2 separate regions of the Homo sapiens genome follow, and region 1 is linked to region 2. Evidence: promoter capture Hi-C in human tissues and cell types (Jung and others, 2019). All regions are on one chromosome and are shown on one strand. The core of a region is centred on a gene start or on the middle of the fragment in contact, and the rest is flanking DNA. Distances in the headings are between cores, read along the strand shown. Region 1 has its middle 210 kb from the start of POM121L12. Region 2 holds the start of SEC61G (SEC61 translocon subunit gamma).

Region 1 (4,778 bases), core at 1,747-4,246, 1.9 Mb before region 2:
ATTCACTCTCACAGCTTCTATTCAACTGGTATTGGAAGCCCTAGCTTGAAAGATTAGGCAAGAAATAGAAATAAAAGGTATCCAAATAGGAAGACAAAGTTAAACTGTCTCTGAAGATGCAATAATCTTATATAGGGAAAACCCTAAAGACTCCACCAAAAAACTGTCAGAATTAACGACAAAGTTCAGTAAAATTTCAGAATGCAAAATCAGCGTACAAAAATCAGTTGCATTTCTTTACATTAACAGTAGATTATTCAAAAAATAAATTAATAAAACAATCCAATTTATGATAGTATTGAAAATTATGAAATATTTAAAAATGAATTTAACTAAGGAAGTGAAAAAACTGTACTTAAAACTAGAAAATATTGACAAAATAAATTGAAGAAACAAATAAATAACTAGATCCCATGTACATGAATTAGATTAAGAATGTTAAAATATCCATAATTCTTAATTTATAGATTCAATGAAGTTGCTATCAAAATTCCAATGACATTTTTCACAGAAATAGAAAAAAATAACAAAATTTGTATTGGACCCCAAACAGTCAAAGCAATTTTAAGAAAATATAACAAAGTCAGTGGGATGACACGCCCTAATTTCAAACTATACTGCAAAACTATAGTAATCAAAACAGCGTGGTACAGGCATAAGGGCAGACATATAGACAAATGAAACAGAATACAGAACCCGGAAATAAACCCATGCATATATAGTAAACTAATCTTTGAAAATGATGCTACAAATACACAATGAAGAAAGCCTCTTCAATAAATATTTTTGAAAAATGGATGTTCATGTGGAAAAGAATAAATTTAGACCCTTTTCTTAAACCATATATAAACGTTAACCTGAAATGGATTAAAGACTTAAATGTCAGATCAGAAATTGTGAAATTTTCAGGGAAAATATAGGAAAGAAGTTCTTTGCCATTGGTCTTGGTAATAATATTTTAGTATATGACACCAATAGCACAGGAAACAATAGCAAAAATAAACAAGTTAGTTACTTCCAAGATACAACTGGGTTACAGGCATTGGATAAATGCTTCTATTCCACCTGGGAGAAATTGGCCAAAACAAAGGCTCTACAGGGCCCATGCAAGTCCGAAACCCAGAAGGCAGTCATTAAATCTTAAAGCTCAAAAATAATCTCCTCTGATTCCATGTCTCACATCCAGGGCACGTTGATGCAAGAGGTAGGCTCCCAAGGCCTTTGGCAGCTCTGCCTCTGTGGCTGTACAGGGTACAGCACCCACAGCTGTTTCATGGGTTGGTGTTGAGTGCTTGCAGCTTTTCCAGGTGCATGGTGCAAGCTGTTGGTGGACCTACTATTCTGGGGTCTGGAGAACAGTGTCCCTCTTCTCACAGCTCCACTAGGCAATGCCCCAGGGGGGACTATGTTTGGGGTCTCCAACCCCACATTTCCCCTCTGCACTGCCCTAGTAGAGGGTCTCCAAGAGGGTTCCACCTCTGCCGCAGACTTCTGCCTGGACATCCAGGTCTTTCCATACATCCTCTGAAATCCAAGCATAGGTTTCCAAGCCTCAACTCTTGCCTTCTGTGCACCTGCAGGCCCAATACAACATGGAAGCTGTCAGAGCTTTGGGCTTGCACCTTCTGAAGCAATGGCCTGAGCTATATACCTTGGCCCCCTTTAGCCATGGATGGAGCTGGAGCAACTGGGACACAGTGTGCCATGTTCCAAGGCTGCAAAGAGAAGCAGGGACCTGGGCCCGGCCTGCGAAACCATTGTTCCCTCCTAGGCCTCCAGGCCTGTTATGGGAGAGGGTGCTGCAAAGATCTCGGAAATGCCCTGGAGACATTTTCCCCATTGTCATGGCTATTAACGTTTAGCTCCTCATTTACTTATGCAAGTTTCTGCAGGAGGCTTGAATTTCTTTTCAGAAAATGGGTTTTTCTTTTCTGAAACATACTCAGGCTACAAACTTTCCAAACTTTTATGCTCTGCTTCCCTTTTAAACATAAGTTCCAATTTCAGACATCTCTCTGTGAATGCATATGACTGTATGCTGTTATGAGCAGCCAGGGCACATTTTGAATGCTTTGCTGCTCAAAGATTTCTTCCACCAGACACCCTAAATCATCTCTCTCAAGTTCAAAGTTGCACAGATTCCTGGGGCAGGGGCACAAGGCCACCAATCTCTTTGCTAAAGCATAGCAAGAGTGACCCTTACTCCAGTTCTCAGTAAATTCCTCATCTCCATCTGAAACCACATCAGCCTGGACTTTATTGTCCTTATCACCATTAGCATTTGGTCACAATCATTCAACAAGTCCCTGGGAAGTTTCAAACTTTCCCACATCTTTCTGTCTTTTTCAGAGCCCTCCAAACCCTTCTAACCTCTGCCCATTACCCAGTTTCACAGTTTCTTTTCACATTTTCAGGTGTCTTTATAGCAGTGCCACACTCCCCTGGTACCAATTTTCTGTGTTAGTCCATTTTTACACTGCTGTAAAGAACTACCTGAGACTGGGTAATTTGTGAAGAAAAATTTAATTCACTGACAGTTCCACAGGCTTTCCAGGAAACATGACTGTGAGGCCTCACAAAACTTTCAATCATGGTGGAAGGTGAGGAGAGGCAAGGATCTTCTTCATATGGCATCAGGAGAGAGAGAGAGTGAAGCAAGAACTGCCACACAGTTTTAAGCCATCAGATCTTGTGAGAACTCACTCACTATCAGGAGAACAGCAAGGCTGAAGTCTGTCCCCATAATCCAATCACCTCACACTTGGCCCCTCCTCCAATTTGACATGAGATTTTGGCAGGGACACAAATCCAAAGCGTGTCAGTCTTGGTAATAACTTTTTTTGTATATGACACCAAAAGCACAGGAAACAAAAGCAAAAGTAAACAAGTAGGGTTACATTAAACTACAAAGCTTTTATAGAGCTAAAGAAACAAACAAAATTAAAAGGCCACCTAAGATATGCGAGAAAATATTTGCAAACCATATATCTGACAAGGGATTAATATCCGAAATACATATGGAACTCACACAACTTTGTAACAAAATAATAATAATAATATTTTAAAATGAGCAAAGGTCCTGAATAGACAGCTTCCCAAAGAAAGCAAATAAATGATCTGGTATATGAAAAAGGTACTAAATATCGCTAATCATTAAGAATATGCAAATCAAACAAAATATCACTTCATACTTGTCATGCTTGTTAGGATGGCTATTATCCAAATGAAAAAAGGATAAGTGTTAGCAAAAGTGTGGATAAAAGGGATCCTTGTACACTTCTGGTAGTAATGTAAATTGGTACATCCATTATGAAACAGTATAGGGTCTGCTGACAATTTTTAAAATAGGACTACCATATGATCAAGCAATAAAAAAGAAATGAAATATGTACATTGAAAAGGTGTGATATAGTTTTGCTCTGTGTCCCCACCCAAATTTCATCTTGTAGCTCCCATAATTCCCACATGTTGTGAGAGGGACCTGGTGGAAGATGATTGAATTATGAGGGCAGGTTTTTCCCATGTTGTTCTCATGATAGTGAATAGGTCTCAGGAGATCTCATGGTTTTAAAAGCACCAGTTGCCCAGCACAAGCTCTCTCTTTCCCTGCTGGCATCCACGTAAGATGTAACTTGCTCCTCCTTGCCTACCATCATGATTGTGAGGCCTCCCCAGCCTCAAGGAACTGTGAGTCCAATTAAACTTCTTTCTTTTGTACATTGCCCAGTCTCAGGTATGTCTTTATAAGCAGCATGAAAATGAACTAATACAAGGAGTCTGCACCCTCATGTTCATTGTAGCATTGTTCACAATAATCAAAATATGAAAACAAGCAAAGTGGCCATCAGTGGATGAGTGAAGAAAGAAAATGCAATCTATATGTATGTATGCACGCACACACACACACACACACAGAGAGAGAAAAAGAGAGAGAGAGAGGAGAGAGAGGAGAGAGAGAGAGAAAGGGAGATACAATGGAATATTATTCAGCCATAAAAGAAATCTGGTTATCTGTGACAACATAGGTGAAACTAGAGGACGTTACACCTAGTGAAATATGACAGACACAGAAATACAAATATAACATGGTCTCACTTATTTGTGGTATCTAAAAAAGTTAAACTTATAGAAGCAGAAGTAGAACAATAGCTTCCAGGGGCTGAGGGGTAGGGGGAATGGAGAGATGTTGATCAAAGGCACAACATTTTACTTATACAATGAATTAGTTCTAGGGATATAATGTCCAGTATGGGTGGTGATGGATGTGTTAATTAATTTGATTGTGATATTCAATATACTATATATATATATGTGTGTGTGTGTGTGTGTGTATATCAAAGCATTGCATTGTATACTTTGAATATATACAATACTATTTGTAAATTAAATATTTTTACAAATGTTTGCAAAAATATTTTAAAAATATATTTAATATATTTAATAAATATATTAAATCTATAATATATTTACACATATTAAATCAGTACATTAAATCCAGATGAGGATAGAGAAGTGAAAATTATATAATTAATACTATTTACATCCCTGCAGTTTTCAAATTACATAAAGGAACATAAATTCTCATATAAGGTCCGAATAGAGATTAATATAAATAGTAGCTTCCACTAGAAAGTGGGATTTGAGGATTACATTAAGAGAATGATGCGCTCCAAGAGGCTCCACATTCTTATAGTAGTACTTGTGGGGTTTTGAGCACACAAAGTATATCAGCAAAATGTGTGCCATTGCTTAAATAGAAATATCTGACATATGAAATA
Region 2 (4,879 bases), core at 597-3,096:
CTGTCGCGCAGGATCAATCAATAAAAATGTTGATCAAAGTAATGCAAGGGCTATTAATCAAGATGTTAATCAAACAAAAGGCTTAGAAAATGCAAAGATTTAATTTTTTCTCTCATAGTCAAGCAATTACCTTTTCTATCAGGTTTAGTGCATCTTTTAACCAGCCGAATGGAGTCCTTTACAAACTGCCGACTTGGCTCAACAAACTGCATTACCTGATCCATGACTGCCTGTTTAAAACAAAAAAGATACTCACTGGTATTGGTTCTCATACAATAAGCACTTGCTCATTTATATAAAGATGTAAATGAGACCAGCCACTGAATTCACGTCTAACATGGGTCAATTCCACCTCCTAAAATAAAACAAAAAACAAACTCCAAAGCCTAAATTGATATTATTTTTGGAAATTTCAGTTAATTATCAAAGGCAATAAGAAAAGCACAGATCTTACTCATGATATCTTCACTGACAAAGAACAGCACACGCAATATAAAAAGCCTATCTCTATTAAAAGGTTAAAAAAGGTTACGCAATTGGTAACACATCCATTCCTTTTCTCACTCTGCAGTCCCATCCATTTCTCATTCTACAGTCCCCTCACCGCTCCTAAGGAACCATCAGTGTTGAGATCCAACAATTACTTTCCATATTTTATTTTAAACTACGCAGAAGCCAGTGTCTTGTACAGTGAATGCCAACTACGGTGCTGCAAGAGCCTAGAATAGAGGCAAACGTGAATTTCAACCTTGATTTTTCTAAAACGTGCCAATACAACATACTTTTCTAAAGTATAAAGAATGGCTAAAGGAAGACGCAAATTCTGAGAAGCTACTAGCTAAATTTCAAACTTTTCGATTTGAACACATCTTTTAAGGAAACAGGGCTATATATTTTACCATACAGGTTCTTTTGAGGAATCTATTACCCAATAGAAATGTTATCCGATCTTAGCTTTGAGAGCCACTGCTATAGTAAGTAAAGCAGCCAGGGTGTTATTTGTATTTTCCTCCATTTCCAGTACTCAGAACAGTGGCCAGGTGGTAGTTCAAATCACTGGCTATGGAATGTAAACCTCTGTAAGCCCCAGTTGCCTTCCTTAGTGTAGGGTGTGGACAACGAAATGAAATAATGTCAATGAAACACCAGGAATTCTGCAACGTTCTGGGGGCAAAAACACAGTAATGTCTGTTTTCTCAGTATTTCACTCAACTTTGCTCTTGAAATCCAAAGGGCTTAAACTTTTTGTAATCATAGTTGTCACGAAGGAAGCTAAGAATTCTTTATCCAGAAAAACGCACGCTACACACAATACCGCACTCAATGTCAGGGGTAGAGATCCAAAAACCAACTATGATCTCTCGAACTAGACTCTAGACCAATGCTCTCACTTTAAACCACGGAAGCGGCGGCAGGACCAGAGCTGAGTACAGCTCTTCCCAGACAGGACTCCACAACAGCACACAGAGCCAACCCCGAAGGGATCGGGCAGCAGGACATCATCTTTGGCTGCAGCACAGAAGACGCCGGGGCAGGACGCTAAGCCCTGGAGCCCCGCGGGCCGGCCACCCAGCTCGCCGGGAGTCCGCGGCCCTGGGTCTGCCTTCCGCCAGAGGCCGAGTTGGTGGGATGTCGGCGGCCAGACCCCGGCCCTGAGCCAGGGGACCACTTACCGCCCGCCCCGCGACGGCCGCCCGGGGAGACACGCCGGCTCGCCCACGCCCGCTGCCCCCAAGAGTCGCAAAGGTGTGGCCGCCCCGTTCGCCCGTACCGACCGGTGGGAAGAAACTCACCTACCCAACCGACACCTAAAATGCCAGGGACACGTAGCACTGGAGCTTGCTGATGGAGGCCCACCGGAACCGGAATCCGGGTTTCTGCCAACAGCCCGCCCACTCCTCCGTCCTATTGGTTCCTTACGCGAAACCTCAGTGCGCAAGCGCAGCGCGACGTGCGCCCGGCCACGCTTCCTGGAAGAGATGCATTGCGGAGCTCGCTAGTTGGGGCGTTGGCCTTCCTTAGGAGTGTGAGTCTAGCGTTATCCCTTTTTTCCGGCTGGATCCCGGGTTACCCCACCAGCCCGACCTCAACCCACTCACGTCCACAGCACGAGCCCCAGCGGCCTTGCGCGGTGCTTGCTCTCTAGTAGCGGCTGACTAGGTAAATCCTAAGTTGTGGTTTTTTTTCCTGCGGTCCAGCTTGATGTGTGTCCTTACGGTACATACTTTTTGTATGTATATAATGTTGGTCGAAATGAAGCTTATGAGCAATATAATGTTATGGCCTAATTCAAAATAGTATCCCCACCCCAAACTTTGACTTTGGCTGTCATTCACGGTAATGAATGCCGCTGTAATTGAGGCCTTTGTCAAACGCTAGGTTTGGTTACGGGAGTGGTCATAATGTACACACAGCTCCCCACTTACCCACAAGGATGCATTCCAGGAACCCCCCGCCGGATGGCTGAAACCGTCAGTAGAGACGGGGTTTCACCATATTGGCCAGGCTGGTCTTGAACTCCTGACCTCGCGATCCACCCGCCTCGGCCTCCCAAAGTGCTGGGATTACAGACGTGAGCCACCGCGCCCGGCCATGTTTCCTTTTAGCAATGGAGCATAACGGGATCTGAGGAACAATATAACTCAGGAAGAGCTGATGGAACATTAAGACGTGTTACAACTCTCAGTGCTTCTTAAACTTCTTCAGTAACTGAAATCTCCTGTTAAGTTTTTTAGTAAATGAAATTTGTAACCCCAGAACCTCCAGATATTGATTCAGTGGGTCAGGGTTAGAGGTCACACACCTCCGTATATCTGACTGTAGGTGGTCCATACACACTACACATACCTTGCCTTAGCTTTAAGAGTCACTTTTAAATTCTGAACAGACTGAGATGCGTTTGACTAGTTCTTCATCCCTGGGACTTCAGCCCATGTGTCATCTCCTTAGAGGCCTATAGTGACCATCTAAGGCAATCCTGTCTATCTCATGCTCTTTTTTCCTTTTTCACAATACCTTCTTCATTTGCTGCATAGCATTTGTATTAACATTTATTTATTTATTCCTCGGTCTGTCTCCCTACACTGTAAATCCCCTTACTAGACCATAAGCTCCAAGTGGGTATAATATAGCATCTAGTAAAGTGCTAAACACAGTAAATGCTCAATAAATAATTTTCAAAAAAATAATTCATTCCAAAAAAACATAAAATCACATGTTGGCAAGTTCACCCCAACCACCAAATGTCTGAGTTGACAGTATTTTCAGCAAAACACAGAAAATCAAGTAACACATACAGTGGTTCCCCTTATCCAAGAAAATCTGGTTCAAAAAGAGATGTGTACCAGAAGGTAATCTGGGAGAGGCCACATTCAAATAACTTTCATTACAGTGTATTGTTATAATTGTCTACTCACCTGATTTCGGGAGTTTGAGACCAGCCAGACCAACGTGGAGAAACCCCGTCTCCACTAAAAATACAAAAATTAGTCTGGAATGGTGTCGCATGCCTGTAACCCTAGCTACTCAGGAGGCTGAGGCAAGAGAATCCCTTGAACCCGGGAGGTGGAGGTTGCAGTGAGCTGAGGTCACACGACTGCACTCCAGCCTGGGCAACAGAGCAAGACTCCGTCTGTAAAAAAAAAAAAAAAAAAAAACAGGCTGATAACAGCAAATCTGTGCAAAAATACGTAACAATCAGAACTCTAGAACTCTAATTCCTGGTTACTAGGAGTGTAAAATGGCATAACCCTTTTGGGAAAAGTTTAGTAGTTTATCATAATATGAAGCATATATACACCACCTATGGCTCCACAATTCCAATTCCAGGTACTTATTGAAGATATATGAAACTAAATTCACAGAAAGACTTGTACAGGAATGTTCGTAGTAACTTTATTGATAACAGAACTAAAAGCAACAGGGTACCATCAATAGAATGAATAAACATACAGGTATAGTCCCACAACAGAATAGTACTCCATAGCTAAGGAAAGAAAACTCTCTGCCACAACATTGATGAATGACAAACATGGTGAGTGAAACAAGCCTACGCTAAAGAAGGCACAGTGTGCAGTTCCATTTGCAAGAAATTTTAGACAAAGCAAAAATAATGAATGGTGGAAAAAATCAGAACAGTGTTTGCCCGGGGCTACATATTGAGAAGGCGGGTGAGGGAACTGGGGAGTGAATGTAATGCTCTGTAATTTAACAGGTCTTAGGGTTTCACAGGGGTCTTAGTCAACGTGGGCAGCTATAACAGAGTATCATAGAGTGGTGGCTTACACAACAAACATTTATTTCTCACAGTTCTGGAGACTGGAAGTCAGAGATAATGGTCAGGTTCTTGTGAAGGCTTTTACTGGTTTATAGATAGCTACTTTCTCATTGCATTCTCACATTGCGGGAGATGGAGGAAGAGAGAAAGAAAGGACCAGCTCTCCTCCTGGTCGTAAGAACACTAATCCCAACATGGGGCTTCAGCCTCCTGACCTAATTACCTCCCAGAAGCCCCTCATCCAAATGCCATCACATTTGGGCTTCCACATATGAATTTGGAGGCGCACAAACATTCCATCCATAGCAGCAGGTCTGTGCCTTTTTCCTCAAAAAAAAAAAAAAAAAAAAAAAACCTCAACAAGTATTGAGCTCTAGTTAATTATACAATTGTCGATGCATTTAGGAGGGAAATGTACAGGTATCTACAACTTATTTTGATTTTAAAAAGGGCAGGTTCATGGTTAGAGGAATAAACTGGTGATAATGCAAATACAACAAAATGTTAAATGTAGACTTAGTTGTGGTGTAAGATGTTCATTGAATAATTCTTTCAATTTTTCTGTATGTTTAAAAATGTTTATAAGATGGAAAAAAGTCAATA

What was found. Contacts are between HindIII fragments. The study calls those that stand out against the background at their distance.
Region 1: a fragment that was not itself captured here is called in contact with the fragment with the promoter of SEC61G in region 2 in 1 of the 25 tissues and cell types used here (dorsolateral prefrontal cortex).

What each region holds. Positions count from the first base shown.
Region 1 is chr7:52,820,314-52,825,091 of GRCh38, forward strand. No RefSeq gene overlaps it. Among named protein-coding and RNA genes, the nearest start is that of POM121L12, 210 kb to the right of the region's middle. The HindIII fragment of the contact is 5,936 bases long and covers 29-4,778 here.
Region 2 is chr7:54,757,365-54,762,243 of GRCh38, forward strand. SEC61G (SEC61 translocon subunit gamma) reads right to left here and starts at 1,847. Exons shown (of 4, transcript NM_014302.4): 1 at 1,794-1,847; 2 at 131-230. The coding sequence starts at 224. SEC61G-DT (SEC61G divergent transcript) reads left to right here and starts at 1,949. Exons shown (of 3, transcript NR_110040.1): 1 at 1,949-2,160. RefSeq lists a silencer at 1,497-1,816 and an enhancer at 2,050-2,985. The HindIII fragment of the contact is 11,909 bases long and covers 1,049-4,879 here.